7 separate regions of the Homo sapiens genome follow, and regions 1, 2, 3, 4, 5 and 7 are each linked to region 6. The links are contacts of gene promoters, found by promoter capture Hi-C in blood cells and fetal thymus (Javierre and others, 2016). All regions are on one chromosome and are shown on one strand. The core of a region is centred on a gene start or on the middle of the fragment in contact, and the rest is flanking DNA. Distances in the headings are between cores, read along the strand shown.

Region 1 (3,512 bases), core at 282-2,781, 150 kb before region 6:
CAGCCTGTATCTTGACAGTAGGTCCTGGGACGCTGTGGAGAAACGAGGGTCAGCCCAGCCCCCACTGTCCCTCTCTTCATTTGCCCATAGCAGGGGCAGCAGCATCTCTGAGGCAGAGGCTTCCTGGGCTCCCTGTGTGAGCAGAGAAGGGGGAGGGAGAGGAGGGGCAGGGCTGTGGGACCCACAGGGGGCTGGAGAGGAGCTGGAGACCTCAGCCCTGCATGGAAGAGAAACTGCAAACCCACATGCTATAGGAACTCATTCCCTCTGCACAGAGTGAAGGAAACCCTAAAGCTCAGAGACCCTAGAGACCCACCCAGGGAGGAGAAGAGACCGTGTCCCGCCTCCTACCTCCGGGCTTCCCTGAAGCACCAGGGCCTGCACCAGACACGTAGGTCCTGCCCTCCCGGCCTCTGGACCATCGTGGAGGTCCCTCCTGTCTTTTGAGCATCTAAATGTGGATCTCCGAGGACCTCGGGGCATGAGAGATGGAGGGGCCGTGTGCTGAGTCTCCCTGTCCAGGCTCAGGTGCCTCTGCTGCCCTTGGTTTGCGCCAGGAAGTGCTTCCTCCCTGGCCTGGCCTGAGAGAGTCACGGGGTTGTGTAGACCTAAGGCTCTCAACTGGGGAGGACTTAACCCCCCAGGACGTTTGACAATGTGTGGAGATAATTGTCTCGCTGCATGGGTGGGGTGGGTGCTTCTGGCATCTGGTGGGGAGAGGCCTGGGATGGTGCTAAACCCCGGCCATGCCTAGGACAGGCCCCAAAACAAGGAGTCATAAGGCCCCACATGCCACAGTGCCAGCGTCAGAGGCAGGATGAGGATGTCAGGCCTGTGGGTCAGGGCTGGTGAGGGGAGGGGCTTGCAGGATCAGGAGGGGCATCCAAGGTGCGGTCCTGGGGAAGCTCAGGCTCTGGTCCAGCTCCTCCCCTGAGTCCATCACCCCCGGCCCCCTCCCAGGACATGTGTCCCGTCTCAGCCGTGCCCTAAAGCCCTCATCACATTTGCCTTTGGCCTCTCTTGGAGCCCGTGCCTTACCTGTCACATTCACAGAGAGCTGGTCATATTTATAATTCCATTTCATATTTCCTCTCTCTACACAAAAGACGTATGTCCCTGCATCACTCTCTCTGGTGTCTCTGATGCTCAGGGTACAATCCTTGTTCTGTGGGTCCCCAAGGAGGTGGAATCGGTCCCGAGTCTCCTCCTGCACTGCTCGAGCTGGGTTGTTTGTGGCCACTGGAATGTTCCGGCTTACATGGTCCCCTGCCCGGAACCAGTAGCCATGAACTGGATCGGAGGCAGTCCAGCCATTTTGGGGGTAGGAGAAGGAGCAAAGCACAGAGACACACAGGCCCTCCTGCACCGTCACGGACTTCTGCATTGTCAGCAGGTAATCCTTCTGTTCCTTAGCCCCCACTCTCCCACAGAGCAGGGGTGGCAGCAGTAGCAGCAGCAGTAGCATGTGTCGGGTTGGAGGTGCCAGGGTTGCTGAGGTAAGTCTGTTCCTCAGGGTTCTTCTCTCAGGAACTGAGAACTCAAGATTTCGAGGAAGCCGCACAGGAAGTTGGGGGTGGGTTCTGAACGGTGACCTCACAGGAGGAACTTCACACACAGACACTGTCAGGGCCGGGTCACCCCTGGAAGATCCACCGTCCACTACCCCGTCCACTCCTGGGGACCCTGAGGCCAGAGAGGATGAAAGACTCACCCAGATTCCAACCCCATGCAGGGCCCACCCCGCCCACTGCCTCCCTCTCAGTGCCCTTCCCCTTGGGTGATATTTTCCATAAGGTGAAAATGAGTCCCATGTGGCCAGACCTATGAAGTACAGGCTGTGGATGTCTCTCTGTAGGTCAGAGGTGACACTAGGATATAAGAGATGGGGGTGCAGGTGGGATGAGCAGGCAACCTCTCCTTCCTCCCTCAGCGGCCGTGAGGTGGAGTTCAACACAGCAGAGCTAGACACTGTCCCCAAAGAGTCACTGTGTAGTGGGGAGACACTGAGGCTCCTGATATCTGAGCTCTCCATGGCAGGAGCTTCAGTGGGGGTACCAGGCAGGGTGTGGTCGCTCTCTCCTATGTTGGGGAATCAGTCTCGGGAGGACTGAGCAGAGAGACACGGGGTCGTGGAGGTGAGGATTCCGTGTGTTGATACACACCAAAGACACAGAGAAGAGCCCAGTTCACAGGAGGCCTGAGAAGCTAAGGCTGTGACTGTTGTACAGTGAGGTCTGGAAGGGAGGAATGTTGGATGGGAAGGGACAGATTTCTAAAGGGGCAGGCGTTTCTCTCTCGGCCATGGCTCTCTGGGTTCAGGATGGGATCCTTCACCACTGCTCTCTCACAAGTCCTCCTTACTCCAGAGCATGAGGGGTCTGCTGGCCCTTTGTTCCTGCAGGCTCTGCTCCCAGGGTTTCAGGTGAACAGGAGACGTGGAGCGAGGACACCAGCCCTGGCGTGTCCACGCTCAATGATGGACAGGATTTCATGGGAGAAGAAATGCACCTGAATTCAGCAGAAGAGTTTTTGAAACTGTATGCTATGTACTGGGAGGAAGGTGGGGAAAATCCTGCAAGATTCGCCCTCCTTAGACCCATGTCAGCTTTTCTTGAAACAATGATTTTTGGGGAAATGTAATACAAGTAAATAAAAGTGCCACCTAAAAAAATGACTCAGTGATTTTCACCAAATTATCACTGTTCAAGAAATAGAACATCACAAGATAATTGCCAAATTTCTCCCATGAGATGAAGAAAGAAATTGCATTCATTTATTCAGCCCTGTGTTTCCCCTTCCTATAGGCCACATGCAGTTCCTCCTGAAGATGCCCCAGCCTCACTTTAATGATAATGGTCTCCTTGCTTTTCTATGTAGTTTTATCATCTGAGTGCACTGCCTTCAATACTATGGCTTTGCATAGGTTTTTCTAAAGACTATTTTTACATAAAAACCACAATCTGTTTTATTTTACTCAGCTCCATGGATCTTCCCATCCCCATGTTGTCCCCAATTGCCCATAACCTGGAGTAGAGTCAGTTGGCTGTGATAATTGAAAAGGAAATGTGCAGGATTGGGGCATGCATAGCTGCTCCTCTCCCTGACACCACTAATTCCTGCATTTGCAGCTTGTATCTCATCCTGCAGACCAATCTGCTCCTGGGCCCCCATCCTTGCCGTGTCACTTTCTTCCCGTAAGGACAGTTGCAGCATCTCAATGGGAAGAAGGGCTCGACCACGGCCCATCTCTTTCCCACAGTCCCCAGTTGGCAAAGAAAAGCAGAAAAATGGGAAGGAGAGACATGAGGAAGCCACAGAGAATCTGCAAAGGAAGAACGTTTGAACCACATATGACTCAGAGGAGCTGATGGGCCCTCTAGACCCACTTCCATAATTTGGAGAGGAAGATATTAAGGACCAGAGTGACAAGTGCTACAGCTACATGTCTCTCCTCAAAATTCATTTGTTGACCTTTGAACCCCCATGTGATAGTATTAGAAGGCATGGTGTTT
Region 2 (3,549 bases), core at 796-3,295, 160 kb after region 6:
CCCCTGTTTATGAATTAATTGAAAGAATGTAAGACCAGGCTGGGCAGCTCTCATTCTCCGATTGGCGGTCCATCCGATTTTACAGACTATAAACAGAAGACAGAGACAAAACAACATTACTCCAAGAACTACATATAAGATGTTACTGTGGTACTTTAGATAGGTCCAAGGGTTGAGGCTCTCCAGGCCTTCCTGGAATTCAGTCCAGTCTTCTAAAGAAGGCTGAAATTCTTGAGTGTGCCTATTTAAATCAAGAATTTTGTTTTGTAATTCACTAATATCAAAGGTGATGTTGGATGTGAAAGCTCCTTGCAAATGGGCTTTCACAAGGTCCCACGGATACTCACTTTTGTTATATTCTAAGTTGGTTACACAAATACGAGTGTGATTAAAATGACAGCGCAATTGCCGCTGCAACTGCAAGCTTTATACTTGTTCCCCTAACCACAGAACCATGGATTTCAACATTGCCACTTCAGTTTGTAACTCAGTGTTAATTTTATTCTGAAGTAGCCTCGCTTGGTTGGCTGTACGTGTCCAATTCTCTACGTACTGAGCCGTTTGAACAGAACTATGCAAAGTTACAGAGGACATCACAACAGAAGTTATTAGTGTGACCAAGGAAACGATAGCAAAAATTATCATGCCTAAGGCTCTACGGGCACAATAAGTAACCTGAAGTAGAAGAAGTTTCACAAAATGCAAAGCAGGTGTGGCAGCCCAAGCCTCGGACAGATTAACAGGAATCCCTAGCCCAGGGATGCAACCTAAAATCATCAAAGTCGAGATATTATGTGTTCGCAATGTGCTATGATTAATGCAGTGATATAACTGGCAAGATTTACAGGTCAACTGGGTATTGTTTACCTGGAGCTGGTCCTTCTGAGCTGCCAAAAAGACATAAGGATTAAAAACACAAACCACAAATTGAGTGGTGATATTCTTTACAAATGTAACATTAAGACTGTGTCGTGACTCCAGTCGGCCTTCTCTCCATCTTTGCACTCAGGCTCAGCTGACTCATGGCTCGTACCGGAGGGACTGGGCCCATGGTTGGCCACCCCATGTTTCTCCAGTCTCCCATTCCAGGGTTGCAAGCACCTTGAGGGCACCCACATGGCTTGTCAATCTCCTGTAAACACACAAGCATACCCTCTTCCCCATGTCAGTAAATCCACCGGGCCTTTCCATTGTCCTTCTTCTGGGGATTTCCATAACACTTTCAGATAAACTTTCCTCTTTTCCTCTAACACTTGCCAATGTCTTTCTGCTGGAGTCTTACCATCCGTACCAGGAGTCAAAAATTTTAAAGTAAATAAGGCTAAATGTAGTTTTGATTGAGGTGGTAGTTGGCCTCCTATACCCCCTTTTTGTCTTTTCAACATTCGTTGTAATGTTTGATGTGCCCATTCTATAATGCCTTGTCCTCTAGGATTATAAGGAATTCCTGTTTTATGGGTTATAGCCCAAAGCTGTAGGAAATTTTGAAAAGCATGACTAGTATAAGCAGGTCCATTGTCAATTTTTAATTGTTTAGGTATTCCCATATGAGCAAATGATGACAGACAATGTCGCTGTACATGACCAGCTGTCTCACCTGTTTGGCATGTACCATGCAGCATATGAGAATAAGTGAAACAAATTAAGCAGTTCTGGGTCTAGCGTACTTTTAACTGTAGCAGTTTCTATGCGAATGGCTAAATTTACAACATAAGCTGAACAAGAAGAATCTCCTTGCAGGGTTTGGTAAAGATGTGTAAGTTGATAGGTAGCAATACCTAACATCGGGCGTAGCCAATTAATATCTCCTAATAATTGCTGAAAATCATTTAAAGTCTGTAACCTGTCTTTATGGTTGACAATGTTGATTGTAGCCTGCCACGATCCCTGATGGACTGAACAAAGGGGACGAGCGTGGGAATAAAAGACAAGAGATAAAAGAGTATATTTGGAAGAAGCGGTCAGGGGGCAGCTTGCCTCTAGTGGACAATGGCCCTGAGCTTTACACAGCCCTCCGTATTTATCAGGCAAAAGAGATAGCAGGAAGTGGGGGGGGTGGTTGCTGGCTAGCAGCCTGATTCACAGCAGGCTTGCAAGACTGCATTCTTAAAACAGTAGGCGCTAGATTTCTCAATAGATAACTCTCAATAGATAACTTCAAGGAGCCAGGGAGTGAGGCCCTCCACAAACCTTTTGGTGGCAGCGCAGTGTGAGTTTGCCACATCCTGCATTCATGATAAACAGTTTGCTGTTTGATCATATAGCCTCCAGTGGAATGCTGAGTTGGTCACGTCCCATGGGCCTTCGGGTCCCTGCAGTTGATAGGATCTGAAGCTGTGAGCTGTAAAACCTCACAGCTGACTGCAACTAGCTCTGAGCATTGACCTGAAACCCCAGAGATCCTTATTGTTTGAGTATGTTTTAGTCCATAGATGGCAGCATGACCTTTGGAAGAGCCATCAGTAAAATAAGTCTGTCCACCTGGAATAGGTTTGTGATGAGTAATCACAGGAAGAATGAAAGAATGGATTTTATAAAACTGTAAAATTTTGTCTGAGAGTAGTGGTTATCTATCACGCCCATGAAGTCTGCGAAAGCAGTTTGCCAGGCAGTCGACATTTCCCAAGCTGCAGCTTGTTGCTGAGAGTCTAAAGGAACAATAATTTTGTCAGGATCATATCCTGTAAGCATTTGTGACCTATGCCTGCCCATAGTCACAATTTGTGTAATTAAAGAAAGATAAACTTGCAAGGTTTTGACTGTTTGATTAGATAGAAAGAACCATTCTATTACTGTTACAGACTAGTCTATAAACTGGCCCAAAAGTCCTGTTGGAGAGTAGGGGGTAGGAAGAATAAACAAAAGCAAAGGTTTTTGTGGTTGTAGCCATGAGGCATGTCTCTGCTGTAACATTTGCTCTACAAGCTGTAATTTGGCTTCTGCCTCTTTAGTTAGTTGCTGCAGGGAATTTAAAGAATCTCCGTGCAGGGTTTGGTAAATATGTGTAAGTTGATAGGTAGCAATACCTAACATCGGTCATGGCCAATTAATATCTCCTAATAACTGCTGAAAATCATTTAAAGTCTATAACCTGTCTTTATGGAGAACTACTTTCTGAGTCCATACACTTCTCTCTGTAACAATAGTTCCTAAGTATTGGTATGGGGAAGTTGTTTGTACCTTTTCTAGAGCTATTTTGAGATTCCATTTAGTCAAAGCCTGCTTTGTTTCTCTGAATAACTGATGTAGGTTTTGATCTGTAGGAGCAGCCAAAAGAATATCATCCATATAATGAATGATGTAAGCAGTAGGAAACATATTCCGAGGCTTCTTTAATGCCTGTCCTACAAAATGCTGACATAGCGTAAGACTGTTAAGCATGCCTTGGGGTAAAACTCTCCATTGATAATGAGAAACAGGTTCTCTTTGATTAATAGAAGGCACAGAGAATGCAAATCAAGGCTTATCCTTCTCGTGTAAGGGTGTAGTAAAGAAACAATCCTTAAGATCTATTACTACAAGAGGCCAGTCTCTTGGAATAGCCGCTGG
Region 3 (3,339 bases), core at 23-2,522, 140 kb after region 6:
ATCTGTAATCCATTTTGGATTAGTTTTTATAAAGGAGGTAAAACTTAGATTGAGGGTTTTTTGTTTGTTTTTATTTATTTATTTTTTTTCGAGACGGAGTTTCGCTCCTGTCGCCCAGGCTGGAGTGCTGTGGCACAACCTCGGCTCACTGCAAGCTCCGCCCTGCCGGGTTCACGCCATTCTCCTGCTTCAGCCTCCCGAGTAGCTGGGACTACAGGCGCCCACCACCACGCCCGGCTAATTTTTTGTATTTTTAGTAGAGACAGGTTTCACCGTGTTAGCCAGGATGGTCTCGATCTCCTGACCTCGTGATCCACCCGCCTCGGCCTCCTAAAGTGCTGGGACTACAGGTGTGAGCCACCGCGCCCTGCCTAGAATCTCTTACATGTTCTCACTCCTAAGTGGGAGTTGAACAATGAGAACACATGGACACAGGGATGGGGAATATCACACACTGGGGTCTGTCGGGGGCTGGGGGGCTAGGGGAGGGATAGCATTAGGAGAAATACCTAATGCAGATGACAGGTTGATGGGTGCAGCAAACCACCATGGCACATGTATACCTATGAAACAAACCTGCACATTCTGCACGTGTACCCCAGAACTTAAAGTAAAAAAGAAAAGAAAAGAAATTATTCTTCAACTTCACATTCTTCTACTCACTCCAAAGAGTCTATTGTACTCCAAAGCGTCTATTAAGTATGCCCTTAACAAGCTCCCCATCCCCAGAGATATGTTCTTCATCTGGATTTTATATTCCACCAGCTGGGTCCTTGCTCTGGGAAGTTCTAGGTCCTGATCTCCTGGAGAGAGTCACTGTCATGTAATTTTCACAGCAGAAGTTAGCCCAAGGGACAGGAGGAGGAGTAAGAGAACTGAAACCAGTTGGGGAACAGGAAACAGAAAGCAGAGCTCCTTCTGATTTTTAATGGCCCTAAGAACACACCAATATACTACTTGTTTTAATAGCAGTGGATTGTTGTGGGCCCATTTAGGAACTAAAGTACCTGACTGTGTTTCTCAACCTCAGTCTTTGTGGGATGCAGAGATTCAACCCTCTCAACCTAAAGGGCCAAGGAATCTGGGTGTCCAGGACCCTTCTCTCTCCAAGGGTCAAGGTAAAGAGAGGAGCAAGTACTGTAATGATGTCAGAGGCACTGGAACCAGAGCAACTCCATGTTGAATAGTAGCTGGGTAAAATTAGGCTGAGACCTACTGGGCTGCATTCCCAGACAGTGAAGGCATTCTAAGTCACAGGATGAGATAGGAGTTCAGCACAAAAAAACAGGTCATAAAGACCTTGCTGATAAAACAGGTTGCAGTAAAGAAGCCGGCCAAAAGCCACCAAAATCAAGATGGCCACGAGAGTGACCTCTGGTCGTCCTCACTGCTACACCCCCACCAGTGCCATGACAGGTTACAGATGCCATGGCAACGTCAGGAAGTTACCCTATATGGTCTAAAAAGGGGAGGAATGAATAATCCACCCCTTGTTTAGCGTATCATCAAGAAATAACCATAAAAATGGCCAACTAGCAGCCCTCAGGGCTACTTTGTCTATGGAATAGCCATGCTTTATTCCTTTACTTTCTTAATAAACTTGTTTTCACTTTATTCTATGGAGTCACGCTGAATTCTTCCTTGTGCGAGATCAAGAACCCTCCCTTGGGGTCTGGATCAGGACCCCTTCCAGTAACAGAAGAATTAGAGGGAAGCAATGAAAGGCAGAATGAAGACGAGAAGGATGGAGACCAAAACCACTGAGAGATTGAAGGGAGGCAGAGAAGTTGACAGGACAGAGCATCCACACCCAGGCACCCCAAGATTAACCCCATAATTTTTGGCTCCAGTGGAAGCTCATTTGTAGGTTTCTAGTGCAAAGAGGTGGTGGGCTTTCTGAAATATTAGGTTCTATCCAAGGGTATCAGAGTGGTATGGAGATAAATGGGAAGCAGAGACAGAAATAAGGTAGTCCACCTAAAAGCATTATTCCCAAGGCTTTGTGTCATTAAGGCTGTTTACAATTTTAAGTAGTTTATAATTTAAAATTACACCTAACAATGGCTTAAACCAAAGACAACATTTATGGTTTATTTGCTTTCCAAGAATTTTGCAAGTGAGTAGTACTAAATTACTTTCTGTCCAAATTATATCATTTAATAAGTTTATTTTGATCTTTTCACTTTTTCATCACTATTTTGGTGTGTTTTTTTTTTCCTGGAAATTGCCACCTCACGGCCCCAAGATAGCTGCCATAGCTCCTGGTCTCACAATACAGCATCTCATGCCAGGAAGATAGGGATGAAATGAAAAAATACTGAAAATTTTAGATCTGAGGCGAGATATGTTCAGATTTATTTTATAAAAATTTATCTTTGGGTCCTAATAACAAGAAGCATTTTAGAAGATTCCCAAGGAAGGAAGGGTAAGAAGTATAGATGTGTCTAAGAGGCACAAGGAAACCAAAATACTGTGTGTGTGTGATGGTTGGGAGGGGGGAATTAAAATAAGGGAAATGGCAGAGGACACCATTATGCATAAAGGAGAAGGACCCAGATGTCAAGAGAAAAAAAGAGGCAAAGGACCCCACAGAGACTAATTGCCAAACACATTTGCAAGTCTTTTGAAGTCCAATTATTCTTCCTAAAACTGGGTTCCTGGATGCCTCTGCATGTTTCCCATAAACTCTCGTTATTAAAACATAAGCAGTTGGGTATGGTGGCTCACACCTGTAATCCCAGCACTTTGGGAGGTCGAGGTGGACGGATCACCAGGCTGGTCAGGAGTTCGAGACCAGCCTGGCCAACACGGCGAGACCCCATCTGTGCTAAAAATACAGAAATAAGCCGAGCATGGTGGCGCATGCCTATAATCCCAGCTACTCAGGAGGCTGAGGCAGGAGAATCACTTGAACCTGGGAAGTGGAGGTTGCGGTGAGCTGAGATCATGCCACTGTATTCCAACCTGGTTGACAGATCAAGACTCCATCTAAAAAAAAAAAAAAAAAAAACAAAAAACCAAAACATAAGTAGGTTTTCTTTCTTGCTACGAAATGGCCCATGATTAACAAAAATGCCTAGAGGCAAGTAAACAGAATAAGAGTCTTAAAATGAACTTTCACTCCAATGGGGCAAAAATCATCTAAGGATCGTCTCAGTCAGACATGGGTGAGACTCAAAGTATGATTCATCCTGAGGCAAATTCCTCTTCAGCTGTAAGCCTGTTAAATCAGACAATTACGTGCTTTCGAAAATATAGTGGTGGGACAATCTAGGATTGACATTCCCATATCAAAAAGGAGAAATAGGAAGGAAGAAAGGGGAACCAGATCCTGAGGAA
Region 4 (3,440 bases), core at 498-2,997, 180 kb after region 6:
TTGAATAATCCTAATCTTAGGGCCTTTCATTACTTTTCAGTCTCAGAGCAAGAAGGGTGTTAGTTAGGGAAGGCCTACTATCATCCTTGCTTCCATGTTAAACTATAAACTAAATTCTTCCCCAGTTATCTTAGCCTACAACCAGGAGTGAACAAAGACAGATAACCTTTGAGGCTAGAGGCAGGAAGGAGTCAGCCACGTTAGATTTCTCTCACTGTCAAAATTTTTGCAAATGTGGTTTCACTTATTGGCATGAGACAGTATAATAACTGTATGGTACTTGATATGTTTCTTTCAAGTAATGAGAATGTAAGCTATCTGAGGGCAGGTATTTTGGTCTATATTGTTTGCTGATGGATCCCAATCCCCTGCAAATAAGATAGTGTCTGATATGTGATAGGCACTCAATAAATGTTTATGGCATTGATAAACAATAATATCACTTAATGTCCAGTCAAAATTATCTCCAGCCCTCATAATATGAATCAGGTCAGGTCTAGTAAATTCCCATCCTCATGTCCACAGTATTTGTAAATTCCCAGCTGGCTTACATTTTCATGAACATTTCTGATTTTGAGTTTCTGCTTAAGTAAACTACTCTGGTTAACCATTGCCTAAAGACTTCATATTTAAATAAATAACTCATAACTCAGCCCTTTACCTTGCTTTCTGCACATAAACACTCAGAAATTGTCAATTCTGTATTGTGAACATACTTTCCTGATGCACTGGCAAAAGACACCACTCAACATGAATATCAGGCAATCCTGTTATCAGTGTTCTCACTCACCCCACTGCTTTACTCATTTTCTTCTCCTTTTCCCTTCTGTCTCTCCTAAAGTTATTGCATTTCCAAGGCAGAGCACTTTGCGCATTTCATTTGCACGTTTGACTCCTATAAATGCTTTAGAGTTCCCAGGAGGTGTATATTCTTAAATGCCCAGCCAAGGTGTAGCCATAGAAAATAAGGAACAAGGCTGGGCATGATGGCTGACTCCAGTAATCCCAGCACTTTGGGAGGCCGAGGTGAGTGGATCATTTGAGGTCAAGAGTTCTAGACCAGCCTGGCCAACATGTTGAAACGCTGTCTGTACTAAAAATACAAAAATTATCTGGGCATGGTGGTGTGCACCTATAATCCCAGCTACTTGGAAGACTGAGGAAGGAGAATTGTTTGAACCTGGGAGGTGAAGGTTGCAATGAGCTGAGAATGTGCCACTGCACTCTAGCCTGGGAGACAGAGAAAGATTCCATCTCAAAAAAAAAAAAAGGAGAAGAAAAAGAAAAAGAAAATAAAAAGGCACAAGGACAAAACCTAGATAGGAGAGCCAGGGCTTCCAGATGGGCTAATTAAGAGACTTCCTCCACTGCCAGGACAGGGGATTCTTACTATTCCTTCCCACTGGCCTTGGTTAATTGCAGTAGAACAGTGCCTGCTACATCCTCTCCATTTTTCTTTTCCTCTTTAGGAGTTTTCATTGTGGAGTCTCAATTCCCATTGCATTATGATATATTGTGGGTTCAGGAAACTGAGATTTTTTTTTTAAAGTTATGGGACAGTTACCACAAAGAAATACTTCCCAATGTATGTCCATGTGGATGGCTCACTAACTTCCTGTATCAGGCCTGGTCGGTCTGGGACAGCACTACTGCTTGCTGGTTTTAGATTTTTTGTTGCTTTGTGCAACTTAGTACTGCTGTTGTCAGGTGTTGCCTTGGGGACTCTCCAGAAACTCTGGTGAATATAGACAGCTCTCTGAGCCTTCAGGCTCCCCTGCAGCTCCTGGAGGGCAGGTTTCATTGTAATGAGGATGTTTCGCTATGAACAGTAGTCACTCTTTCTCTAATCAGGCCCCTGGTGACAGGCCACTACTTGAGGGCACGTTGTCCCTTGAGCTATATATGCTGCTCTTGTTACATGGGGTCTTGGTAGTAGTCTGGCCTGTACTGGGTATAAGTTGCAAAGTCCTGGTCTCCAGCCAGAGTGAGCTGGCCAGTATGGTGAAACTCTATGTCCATCTCTGCCAGGGTCCAACCTGGCCGAATGACAGATGAAAAATGCACTCTGAGACTGATATCCAGTGAAAAAGCAGGCTAGGGGACTGGGCAGCTCACAGACACCGAGGAGGGAGCTGTAAAGAGTCAGTAGCCACAGCCCCGACAAGCTGGCACTGTGGGCATTTATTCAGTACAGATTTAATGACAAAGGCCTGGAGTCAACACGTCTTGTGGGTAATTAACATTGTCACCCCCCACCCCCCAAGACAGCAGTCCTGTGCACAGATGATTAAATACCAGGTTCCGAGGCCTAAGTAAACTAACTTATCTAGATCAATTCCTTTACACTTCCTTGTTATCCATTCTGAGAAAATTCAGCTGCCTTCAGCCAAATCCTCTTCTGAAGCTATGCAAATCCCAGGCCTTCCAAGAAGGTTTGCATCCTTTTCCTATAATTTATCTTACAACTTTTCCCACCATCCTGACCGATCTCCTACACATCTCACTGATGAGAGAGCCACAGGATACCAGGCTCCTGGGTAGCAGCAATTCCCTCATAGTGAAGTCAGAAAAGATGATAAAATGCTGGGCTTCAGTGTGTTGATAAAGGAGAGCCAGGATGAAAGGATCAAGTCACCTAAGCCTAACCTGTAATATGGCAACTGCACAAGTCCCCTTGGCAATTTTCAAGAGCAAGTGCTGCTGAGGCCAGTGCCTCCTTGGTTGCTGCATTCCTTCCTGCTATCACTCCTTGTCCCCACTAGCCACTCAGAGGTCAAGTGGGGCACCTTCAAAAGGGAAACAACTGCCCACAAGGCCAGTGCAAATGGAGCTCACCCCCAGATGTTTTTAGTAACAATTTGTAAAGTCAAAACAACAGGGTGCCAAACCCAAGGTCATCTAGATTTTCTCCTGTTATCTTCTAGGAGTTTTATAATTTTGTCTTTTACATTTAGGTCTGTGATCCATTTTGAGTCCTATTTATCTGGTGGAAACCTGACTGACATAGCATATGCTTCTAGTGTTTAAAAAAAAAAAAAAAAACAGAGGAAAGATGAAGCATTAACTAATATAAATTAGTAGAAATTGAGTGGAAGAAATGAAAATAGTCTCTCTGTCTACTTTATCATGCCATTTTCTTTTTGTGTTTTTGCCATCAGCATATACATCTGTTCTCTAATCTACTAACTGAAAACATAAAAACCTTTTGTACCACACGCGTCCTCCTGAACTTTACAACAAATTTCTCTGCTCTCCTTGACAGCAAACTCAAGGGTCACTTCCAGTTTCTTTCTCTACTTCCTCATTTCACATTTTCTCCAGAACTCATTCTAAATGGGTTCATGTCCTGATTACTGCAGTGGGACTACTCTTATCAAGGACAACAGTGACATCCATTGCCATGTTACTGCACTGCAGGTTCAGACATTTGGTGCTTGCCT
Region 5 (3,105 bases), core at 320-2,819, 210 kb before region 6:
TTAAGGCTAAAGAATATCCCATATTATGGATATGGAACCTTTTTTCTATCCACTTATCAGTCAATGGACGCGAGTTTTTTTTTTCCCCACCTTTTAGCTCTTGTAAATAATGCTGCTATGAACATTGATGTATAGGTATCTGTTTAAGTTCATGCTTTCAATTCTGGGAACATATCTAGGAATCGATGGCTGGATTACACTGTATTTCTAGGCTTAACTTTCGGAGAGAATTCCAAAGAGTTTTCCACAGGGTCACACCATTTTACATGCAGTGCAAAGGGGCTCCCACTTGTCCATATTCTTGCAAACAATTAGTATTTTTTTTTCTTTTGAGACGGAGTCTCAATCTCTCGCCAGGCTGGAGTGCAGTGGCACCATCTCGGCTCACTGCAACCTCCACCTCCTTGGCTCAAGCAATCCTCCCACCTCAGCCTCCCGAGTAGTTGGGACCACAGGTGCTCACTGCCACGCCCGGCTAATTTTTGTATTTTTTGTAGAGATGAGGTCTCACCATGTTGCCCAGGCTGGTCTTGAACTCCTGACCTCAAGCAATTCTTCCTCTTTGGCCTCCCAAAGTGTTAGGATTATAGGCGTGAGCCACTGTGCCCAGCTTATGCTTTATATTTTAAGAGTTCTAGTGACAGTGCAGTGGCATCTTATGTTTAATTTTTAAAAATTTACTTAAAGTTAGATATGGTTGAATTCATTCTTTATCATATGTAATTTTATGTGGGTTGACCGATGCATATAGTTATATACACAACCGCTGTGAAGACAATGAAAAGTGTCATTACCTGAACATTTCCTCCCTCTGCTGACTCTAGGTAGTCAATCCTCCCTCTACACTTAGTCCCTGAGAAAACACGGATCTATTCTCCATCCCTGCCATTTTGCCTTTTTATAGAATGTCATATAAATGGAATCATACAAAATGTATCCTCTAAAATCTGGCTTCATTTACTTGGCATAATGCTTTTGAGGCTCATCTATGGGGCTGGGTATAAATCTGTCATTTTAGTTTAATTGTTGACTGGTGCTCCATTGTTTTCATGGTCTCTCATTTTGCATGTATTTGCCATTTGCGGAGCATTGCAACTGTTTTCAGGTTCTGGTGACTCTAAAATAATGTTGCTATAAACATTCCATTCAACTTTCTGCGTGTGAACATAAGTTTTTAATTCCCTTGAGTAAAAACCTAGGAGTCGAGTGCTTGGTCAGACGTACACTTGGTCAAGTGTAAGTTTAAATTTATACAAAATTGACAAACTATTCTCCAAAGTGTATATACCATTTTGTATTCCTACCAGCAGTAGACATGAGCTCTGATCACTTCACATCCTTGCTAGCATGTGATATCATCCACATATTTTAAAATTTCTTGTTACCTTTGTTGTACTTTTCAGTCATTTTTCTTAGGTATGTAATTCTACCTCATTCTTCTTCTATTCTACAATTACCTAATGACAAATTATATTGAGGCTATTTTCACGGCCTTGTTCGCCATCTGCTTTTCTTTTTTGGTGAGGTGGCTATGAAATCTTCAGTAGCTTTTTTCTTAATTGTGGTAAAATATACAGAAGAAAAAAATTACCGTTTTAACTATTTTTCAGTGTTTAGAGAAGTTGCACCAAGTACACTCACGTTGTTATGAATCACTATGATTTATCTCCAGAAGTTTCTTCACCTTCCCAAACTGAAACTGCATCAAAGAGGTGAAAACCCCCTATTTCTTTCTGATCACAGCCCCTGGCAAGCATGGCTCTACTTTCCGTGTCTGTGAATTTGCCTCCTCTACACACCTCATATAAGTGGAATCATACAGTGTTTGTCCTGCTGTGACTGACTTAGAATATATTTAAGGTTCATCCACGCTGCATCATGTGCTAGCTTCTCCTTCTTTTTTTTTTTTTTTTTTTTTTTTGTTGTTGTTTGAGACGGAGTTTCACTCTTGTCGCCCAGGCTGGAGTGTGATGGCGTGATCTCAGCTCACTGCAACCTCCACCTCCCAGGTTCAAACAATTCTCCTGCCTCAGCCTCCTGAGTAGCTGGGATTACAGGCACCTGCCACCAGGCCCGGCTAATTTTTTTTTTTTTTTTTTTTTGAGACAGAGTTTCGCTCTTGTTGCCCAGGCTGGAGTCCAGTGGCGTCATCTTGGCTCACTGCAACCTCCACCTCCCAGGTTCAAGCAATTCTCCTGCTTCAGCCTCCCGAGTAGCTGGGATCACAGGTACGTGCCACCACACCTGGCTAATTTTGTATTTTTAGTAGAGATAGGGTTTCACCATGTTGGTCAGGCTGCTCTCAAATGCCTGACCTCAGGTGATCCACCCGCCTCGGCCTCCCAAAGTGCTGGGATTACAGGCGTGAGCCACCGTGCCCGGCCTGTATTTTCTTTTCTTTTTTTTTTTTTTTTTAGTAGAGATGGGGTTTCACCATATTGGCCAGGCTGGTCTCGAACTCCTGACCTCAGGTGATCCACCTGCCTCGGCCTCCCAAAGTGCTGGGATTACAGGTGTGAGCCACCATGCCTGTCTCCTTGGTTTTTTTGTTTGTTTTGTTTTTTGTTTTCTTTTTCTTTTTCTTTTTTTTTGAGATAGGGTCTTGCTCTGTTGCCCAGGCTGCAGTGCAGTGGCATGATTGGGCTCACTGAAACCTCTGCCTCCCAGGTTCAAGCGATTCTGCTGCCTCAGTCTCCCGAGTACCTGGGATTACAGGCACATGTCATCATGCCTGGCTAATTTTTATATTTTTAGCAGAGATGGGGTTTCATCATGTGGGCCAGGCTGGTCTAGAACTCCTGACTTCAAGTGATATGCCCACCTCGGCCTCCCAAAGTGCTGGGATTACAGGCGTGAGCCACCATGCCCCAGCCCAGCTTCTCCTTCTATTTTAAGGCTGAGTAATATTCAATTGCATGTATACAATACACTTTGTTTATTCATTCACTTTTTAGGAATAGCAGGGTTGCTTTTCCCTTTTACCTACTGTGAATATGCTTCTGTGAACACAGATGCATAAAACTATGCTCAAGTTCCGGCTTTTGATCTTTTGGGCCATATACCCAGAGGTGAAATTGCTGGATCATAAGATCATTCTATTTTTAA
Region 6 (3,251 bases), core at 752-3,251:
AGTTGTGGGAGGCATCAGGACAGGGTCAAGGAGAGATCGGATTACTCAGGAATGTGGAGGGGAAGAACTGGGTTCTGGGACAGAGCTGTGGGAGGTGGGAAAGTCGAAGGCTCCCAAAAAGGACGATCAGTTAGAGATGAAGCAGGGCATGCATCAGAGGACATCGGAGCAGGCAGAAATTCAAGAAAAGGGAACAGCGTGTCCTGAGTACTCAAACTCACAGAGACAGAAAAGTAGAATGGTGACTGCTCGGTGGCAGGAGGGGGAAGTGGAAAGTCGCTGTTCAGTGGGTACAAAGTTTCAGTTTTGCCAGATAAAAGGAGCTCTGCAGTTTGGTTTTGCAACAATGTGAACACATTTAACACTGCTGAACTGTACTCTTTAAAATGGCTAAGATGACAAATTTTGTGCTATGTGTATTTTCTCACAATGAAAAAATAAATCTGAAAAAGAGAGCAGAGAAAAGGGAGAAGCCAAAAGAAATACTAGGTCTGTTCGTGCAAGATCTTAGTGACTGGGATTGGGGGGTTGGGAGCAGGAAGGACCCAGACCCAGGGGCTGAGGGGTGAGGGAGGGTCTCCTCTCCCAATGCTGAACCCTGAGCTAATAGAAGGCTCCCATCACAGCCCCAGAGGGAAGAGGGTCTTTCCTACCTGTGCCTGTGCCATTTCTGAAGAAGATGCTGATGGCGAGGTTCTGTGGAGCATCTGGGATAGAAAGATACAGCACCAGCTTCAGAGGTGACAAGAGGGATGGGCGTGGTCCCGGGAGGGACCCAAGGAGGGGCCACAGAAACCCACCAGGTGGGGACCGCTGTCCTTCCTGCCCACACACGAGTTTTCCCTGGTTATCATTCTCTTTCTCTCTCTCTCTTCTACACACACACACACACACACACACACACCCCCCTCACTCCCACTGCCCTTGGGGACTCAGCTGTGTCCCCAGCACCACTCACAGGAGACATTGAGCTGGACAGTTCTCTCCGTGGTCACCTGAGCTCCTTGGCGTTTCACCTGACAGGTGAGGTTGGTGCCATGGTCCTCGGGCCTGGGGGTGAGGGTGAGCTCCGAGGAGCGGGTGGTCTCGGGGTCCAGGGGGCTGAGGGCATTCCCCGTCCAGGAGAATGTGAGAGGTGGTCCCGCTTCACAGGATCCTGGAAGGCTGCAGCTCAGCCTTGTGGGGCGGCCGGACTCCAGAGGCTCCAGAAAGTGGATGTCGGGTTTCTCTATCAGGGCTGAGGAGGAGACAGGGAGATACCTGGGCCCCAGGGGCTTGAGGACGTAAGGTGTGACCCCGAGAGTGGCCAGGCCTCAGGCCCCGACCTGCCCCAAGTCCTACACCTCCTCCAGCCGCCCCTGCCCAACTCCTGTCCCTGTTCTCATACGGGGGTCTCCACGTCCCAGGGTCCTCTCCTAGGGTTCCTGCCATACCTGTCACCTCCAAGTTCAGCTTATTCTGTTGGTAGCTATATTTTACATCCCTTCCTCTCTCCACGCGGAAGAAATAGCTTCCCGTGTCCTCCATTCTGGCATCTCCGATGCTCAGGGAGCAGTTCTTCTTCTGGACATCCCCAAGGAGGCGGAATCGGCCCTGGGTCTCTGGCTTCACTCTTCTGTCTGGGTTGTTTGTGGCCACAACCTCAGCGTAGTATGGGATCTCCCCGTCCCGGAACCAGTAGACGTAGAGTGGGGGAGAGGAATACCAGGATCTCCAGGGGTAAGAGAAGGAGCAGGGCACAAGGACGCACAGGCCCTCCTGCACCGTCACCGACTTCTGCACTTGCAGCTCGTACACTGGCTTCTCCTGCAGGGACCCTGGGGGGACACAGAAGCTCAGCTGCAGCTCCAGCCCCCCTTCTCACCCCTGTGCCTGTCCCTCCTCCCTCAGCTCACTCACCCCCCCACAGCAGGGGCAGCAGCAGCAGGGGCAGCATGTCTCCATCCGCCAGGGCCCCAGCCCAGTCCCAGGTCCGGCTGTCAGGGAAGGAAATGCTCCAAATGTCCAAACGTGGGGTGGGGCTGAGAAAGCCCCGACAGGAAGCCGGAGGGTGAGTGAGAGCTGTGGACGCGCACAGAAGGGGAACTTGGGCATCACGTGCTGTTGGGGTGAGGCTGGGGCTGGGAAGCCATTCTGCTCCCACCCCCACTGGACGCCGATGGTGAAGATACTGAGGCCCCCAGAGGGGCTTGTCCAGACTTGTAAGTCTAGACTCCTGAGGTCACCAGGTCCCATAGCTGCAGCACTTTCCTTATGCACCTTTGTCTACATAGGAAGGAGAACACCACTTGGCCAGCTCCCTGGGAGTCAGGGCCTCGGGACCCTCAGCGAGATGGGAGAATAAATCCTTTATGACATGATAGGAGCTGTGGTGAGGGAAGCACACGCTGGGGGTTTCAGGTGGGGAAGACTTTCCTCTTTCCAGAGGGAAGGCAAGTTGTCAGGGACAAACACATCAGGTGGACATGACCGGGTCCTTAGCAGTCAAGAGAGATGTGGTCCCCACCACCAGTTGGATTTGGGAACCTCATCTCATCCTTGTCCTTGTCCCAGGCAGCGTCAGACCCCATCCCTGATGTTGACAGCCAGATGAGGCTTGAGAGCCGGGCATTTGAAATGTGAACGTTGAGGATATGGAATACCAAGTGTGAACCCAGACCCCTCACCTACCGGCTGTTGAACTTTACAAAAGTTACCTACCCTCTCTGTGCCTCAGTTTGCTCAGCTGAAAAATGCAGACAATAATAGAATTGCTGTGTGGGGATTCAGTGAGGTCTCATGTGTAAAGTGCTTAGGACAGTGTCTGGCCCCGAGAATTCACTCATTCAACTGATGCTTCATGGGCGCCTATGGTGCACCAGGCCCCCTGTTTTAGGAGCTGGAGATACAGCAAAGGATAAACTCTTAGGATGAGAAGGTAAGTCAAAAATCCTAGTGGGGGCTCCTCTGGGCACACTGCTTATGCATACCCCTGCTCCACGAAGAACAGTAAAAAAAGAAGGCCGGGCGCAGTGGCTCACGCCTGTAATCCCAGCACTTTGGGAGACCGAGGCGGGTGGATCACGAGGTCAGGAGATCAAGACCGTCCTGGCTAACATGGTGAAACCCCGTCTCTACTAAAAATACAAAAAATTAGCCGGGCGTGGTGGCGGGCGCCTGTAGTCCCAGCTACTGGGGGGGCTGAGGCAGGAGGACGGCGTAACCCGGGAGGTGGAGCTTGCAGTGAGCCGAGATCGCACCACTGCACTCCA
Region 7 (3,206 bases), core at 505-3,004, 230 kb before region 6:
AAGTACAATGACTGGTAAGTGACAAATGCCATCAAGAAATTTGAGCACCTTTAGAAGGCAGCGAAAGGGAGGGTGGGATGACTGTTTAATAGGTCATCCAGGGAATTTCAAGACCGGCCTGGCCAACATAGCGAAACCCTGTCTCTACCACAAATACAAAAATTAGCCGGGCGTGGTGACACATGCCTGTGGTCCCAGCTACTCAGGAGGCTGAGGCAGGAAAATCACTTGAACCTGAGAGGTGGAGGTTGTAGTGCGCTGAGACTGCGCCACTGCACTCCAGCCCGGACAACAGAGACAAAATCTGTTTCAAAAAAATAATTGATAGCCGGGTACGGTGGTTCACACCTGTAATCCCAGCACTTTGGGAGGCTGAGGCGGGTGGATCACCTGAGGTCAGGAGTTTGAGACCAGCCTGATCAACATGGTGAAACCCCGTCTCTACTAAAAATACAAAAATTAGGGGGGCATGGTGGTGGATGCCTGTAATCCCAGCTACTCAGGAGGCTGAGGCAGATGAATCGCTTGAACCAGGAGGTGGAGGTTGCAGTGAGCCGAGACCTTGCCACTGCACTCCAGCCTAGACAACAACAGTGAAATCCCATCTCAAAAAATAAAATAAAATAAAAATAAATAAAATAAAGAATAGCATGCATGCACGGAGAGAAAGACTGGAGGGGGTGAGAACGGAAGCAGAGAAGGCATGCAGAAGGGGCCAGTGGTGCCCGGGGTGGGGTGGGGGGTGTTGATGCATGGCTTGTAGTAGTGAGGGAAGAGTAGGGAGAACTGGCTTGGTTGTATTTTGAAGGGAATTTGCTGATGGATTGGTTGTGGGGTGACAGAGAAGAGAGGAGTGAAATATGATTCTAAAGCTTTAGACTTGGCTGGGAAAATGTGGTGTTATTTGCTAAGATGGGGATAGAGATGGAGCATAAATGGTGGAATTAGTCTTTTTTTTTTTTTAGATGAAGTTTCGCTCTTGTTGCCCAGGCTGGAGTGCAGTGGCATGATCTCACTGCAACCTCCACCTCCTGGGTTCAAGTAATTCTCCTGCCTCAGCCTCCCGAGTAGCTGTGATTACAGGCACCCATCACCATGCCCAGGTAATTTTTTGTATGTTTAGTAGAGATGGGGTTTCACCATGTTGAACACGCTGCTCTTAAAATTTTGACCTCAGGCGATCCACCCACCTCGGCCTCCCAAAGTGCTGGGATTACAGGTGTGAGCCAGCAGGCGTGGCCTTTTTTTTTTTGAGACAGGGTCTCACTCTGTCACCCAGGCTGGAGTGCATGGTGTCATCATGGCTCACTGTAGCCTCCAACTCCCAGGCTCAAGAGATCCTCCCACCTCAGCCTCCCAAGTAGCTGGGACAATGGGCATGCACCACCACACCCGGCTAATTTTTTATTTTTTTTGTAGAGAAGAGGTCTCACTATGTTGCTCAGGCTGGGGAATTATCTTAAGTTGGTTTTGGACAGGCTAAGTTTGAAGTGCTGATTAGACACCCACATGGAGATGTTGCATAGACAGTCTTCAGGGAAGGAGCCACGAGATACAATTTTGCAGTCATCAGCATAAGATGTTATCTCTTAATAATTTCCAGAATTTACAGAGTATTACCCAGGGGCCAGGTGATATTCTGAATATTTTATTATGCAAGTACAATATATTTAACACCCAGCATCATCCTAGGAGGTGGCCGCTAGTATTGTCTCCATGTTACAGCTAAAGAAATTGAGGCACAGAGAAGTTAAGACACTTGTTTCATGACACAGTGATGACAGCAGGATTTGAACCCATGCAGGCTGATTTCAGACCCCCTGTGCTGAATCCCTAGGATGCCCAGCCTCCCGATGATACACATAATTGTTAAGCAGTTAAGTGTAGTCATGTCAATGGTGGCAGTAATAATGGAACAATGGCTACAGATTGAGAAAGTGCATGTATTCTAATCCTCAAACCAACTCTCAAAGGAGACAGAGGAAGAAATGAAGGCTCAGAGGGGGTGAGTGACGTGGCTGAGGTCTCATAGCTAGTAAGTGCCAGGCAGGATTTGAATTCAGAACTATCGGTGCTTTTCCCACCTTGATGTCGCTAAGACAAGGGGTGCAAAAGTCAGAAAGTGGGATGTCAGCTTTAGAGAAGAGAAAAAGTGGAAGCATGGCCCAGACACTCACCAGGGGGCCAGCCGTCGGGACCACATTGATGTAATCCAGGATCGTGCTGTGCCGGGAGAACCTGGGCCTCGGGGTTTCTGTCTGAGTCCGTCTCTTCGGTAGAATCTTCATGCTGAGGAAATGAACCCACCTGTTTGTGCCCTGCTGCACCTCCCTGTGACAGACTGCCACGTTTACTACCTGAGACCGTCACTATGACAGTTACTACTGTTACCACTTGAGACCGTCATTATGAGACTGAAAGAAGGAGGACAAACGTAGAAATGAAAACTTAAGACAAAAGAAATTATTTTAAAGGAAGGGGTCAGGGGAAGAAGAAGAGGGTTCCCTGCTACTAGTGAGCCAGGGCAGCTGTCTGAGCCTCTACAGCCCTTTGTATTTATTGGGTAGAAAGAGCAGAGAGCAGGAGGTAACAATTGGTCAGCTGTTTAATTGATCACAGGTTCATATTATTACTAACAAGCTTCAGCTGTGCCTAATTACAAGAAACACTTCGCTTGGGGCGTGACTGCCCTCAGCATTCCCTCTGGGAAGCAGACGCAGTTTGTCAGTTGGACAACATTCTGCATTTATGAGAACAGTTTGCTGTTTACTCATGTAACCTCCAGAGGTATACTGCGTTGATCACGACCTTCACTCTTTCGGCCTGCAACACCTCCCCTCTTCCTGGGTCCAGGCCCCAGACCCCGCCACGCCTCCTCTTAACCTACATGATCAGGGCCAGGCAGAGGAAAAGAAGAGCCGTGATGCCGATTCCCAGAAACGCTCCGTTGGAGAATGCCGTTGAGATGAGTCCCTTCTTATCTGCACACGGAGAGGGCAAGGTGAGCATTTCCCATCCACGCAGGGCTCACGAAGCCCGCTCATCACTCGGCATTAAGGCTTCCGGTTCCCATGGCGGACATTGTATCTGCAACCCCTCTGTTTACTTTTAGGAAACCCTGCCACACCCCGGCCCAGGTGTTAGGACTTCCCATTGTGTTTTCCTGTCTACATACAGATGCCACGGGTCTGCTGTGTCCCTCCAAG

Evidence for each region. Contacts are between HindIII fragments. The CHiCAGO score rates a contact against its expected background, and 5 or more counts as called.
Region 1: the fragment with the promoter of SIGLEC12 here is called in contact with the fragment with the promoter of SIGLEC14 in region 6 in 11 of 17 cell types (total B cells, naive B cells, erythroblasts and 8 more); the score reaches 11.4 in total B cells.
Region 2: a contact is called between a fragment that was not itself captured here and the fragment with the promoter of SIGLEC14 in region 6, in 1 of 17 cell types (monocytes). The highest score is 5.5, in monocytes.
Region 3: a fragment that was not itself captured here is called in contact with the fragment with the promoter of SIGLEC14 in region 6 in 2 of 17 cell types (neutrophils and monocytes); the score reaches 9.7 in neutrophils.
Region 4: a contact is called between a fragment that was not itself captured here and the fragment with the promoter of SIGLEC14 in region 6, in 4 of 17 cell types (monocytes, M2 macrophages, M0 macrophages and 1 more). The highest score is 14.0, in monocytes.
Region 5: a fragment that was not itself captured here is called in contact with the fragment with the promoter of SIGLEC14 in region 6 in 10 of 17 cell types (megakaryocytes, erythroblasts, endothelial precursors and 7 more); the score reaches 19.7 in megakaryocytes.
Region 7: a contact is called between a fragment that was not itself captured here and the fragment with the promoter of SIGLEC14 in region 6, in 7 of 17 cell types (megakaryocytes, erythroblasts, endothelial precursors and 4 more). The highest score is 16.8, in megakaryocytes.

Annotation. Positions count from the first base shown.
Region 1 is chr19:51,500,269-51,503,780 of GRCh38, forward strand. SIGLEC12 (sialic acid binding Ig like lectin 12) reads right to left here and starts at 1,532. Exons shown (of 8, transcript NM_053003.4): 1 at 1,039-1,532; 2 at 1-32. The coding sequence starts at 1,465. The HindIII fragment of the contact is 28,149 bases long and covers 1-3,512 here.
Region 2 is chr19:51,805,169-51,808,717 of GRCh38, forward strand. All of the region lies in intron 1 of FPR3 (formyl peptide receptor 3), which reads left to right. It also overlaps a transcript of ZNF577 not described here. Among named protein-coding and RNA genes, the nearest start is that of FPR3, 12 kb to the left of the region's middle. The HindIII fragment of the contact is 3,247 bases long and covers 423-3,549 here.
Region 3 is chr19:51,785,973-51,789,311 of GRCh38, forward strand. No RefSeq gene overlaps it. Among named protein-coding and RNA genes, the nearest start is that of FPR3, 7.5 kb to the right of the region's middle. The HindIII fragment of the contact is 5,296 bases long and covers 1-3,339 here.
Region 4 is chr19:51,827,111-51,830,550 of GRCh38, forward strand. It overlaps a transcript of ZNF577 not described here. Among named protein-coding and RNA genes, the nearest start is that of FPR3, 34 kb to the left of the region's middle. The HindIII fragment of the contact is 6,940 bases long and covers 1-3,440 here.
Region 5 is chr19:51,431,543-51,434,647 of GRCh38, forward strand. No RefSeq gene overlaps it. Among named protein-coding and RNA genes, the nearest start is that of SIGLEC10, 15 kb to the left of the region's middle. The HindIII fragment of the contact is 7,506 bases long and covers 1-3,105 here.
Region 6 is chr19:51,644,824-51,648,074 of GRCh38, forward strand. SIGLEC14 (sialic acid binding Ig like lectin 14) reads right to left here and starts at 2,002. Exons shown (of 7, transcript NM_001098612.3): 1 at 1,900-2,002; 2 at 1,434-1,817; 3 at 959-1,237; 4 at 654-707. The coding sequence starts at 1,936. The HindIII fragment of the contact is 8,795 bases long and covers 1-3,251 here.
Region 7 is chr19:51,411,535-51,414,740 of GRCh38, forward strand. It overlaps SIGLEC10 (sialic acid binding Ig like lectin 10), which reads right to left. Exons shown (of 11, transcript NM_033130.5): 9 at 2,888-2,981; 10 at 2,178-2,289. Among named protein-coding and RNA genes, the nearest start is that of SIGLEC10-AS1, 2.6 kb to the right of the region's middle. The HindIII fragment of the contact is 1,768 bases long and covers 871-2,638 here.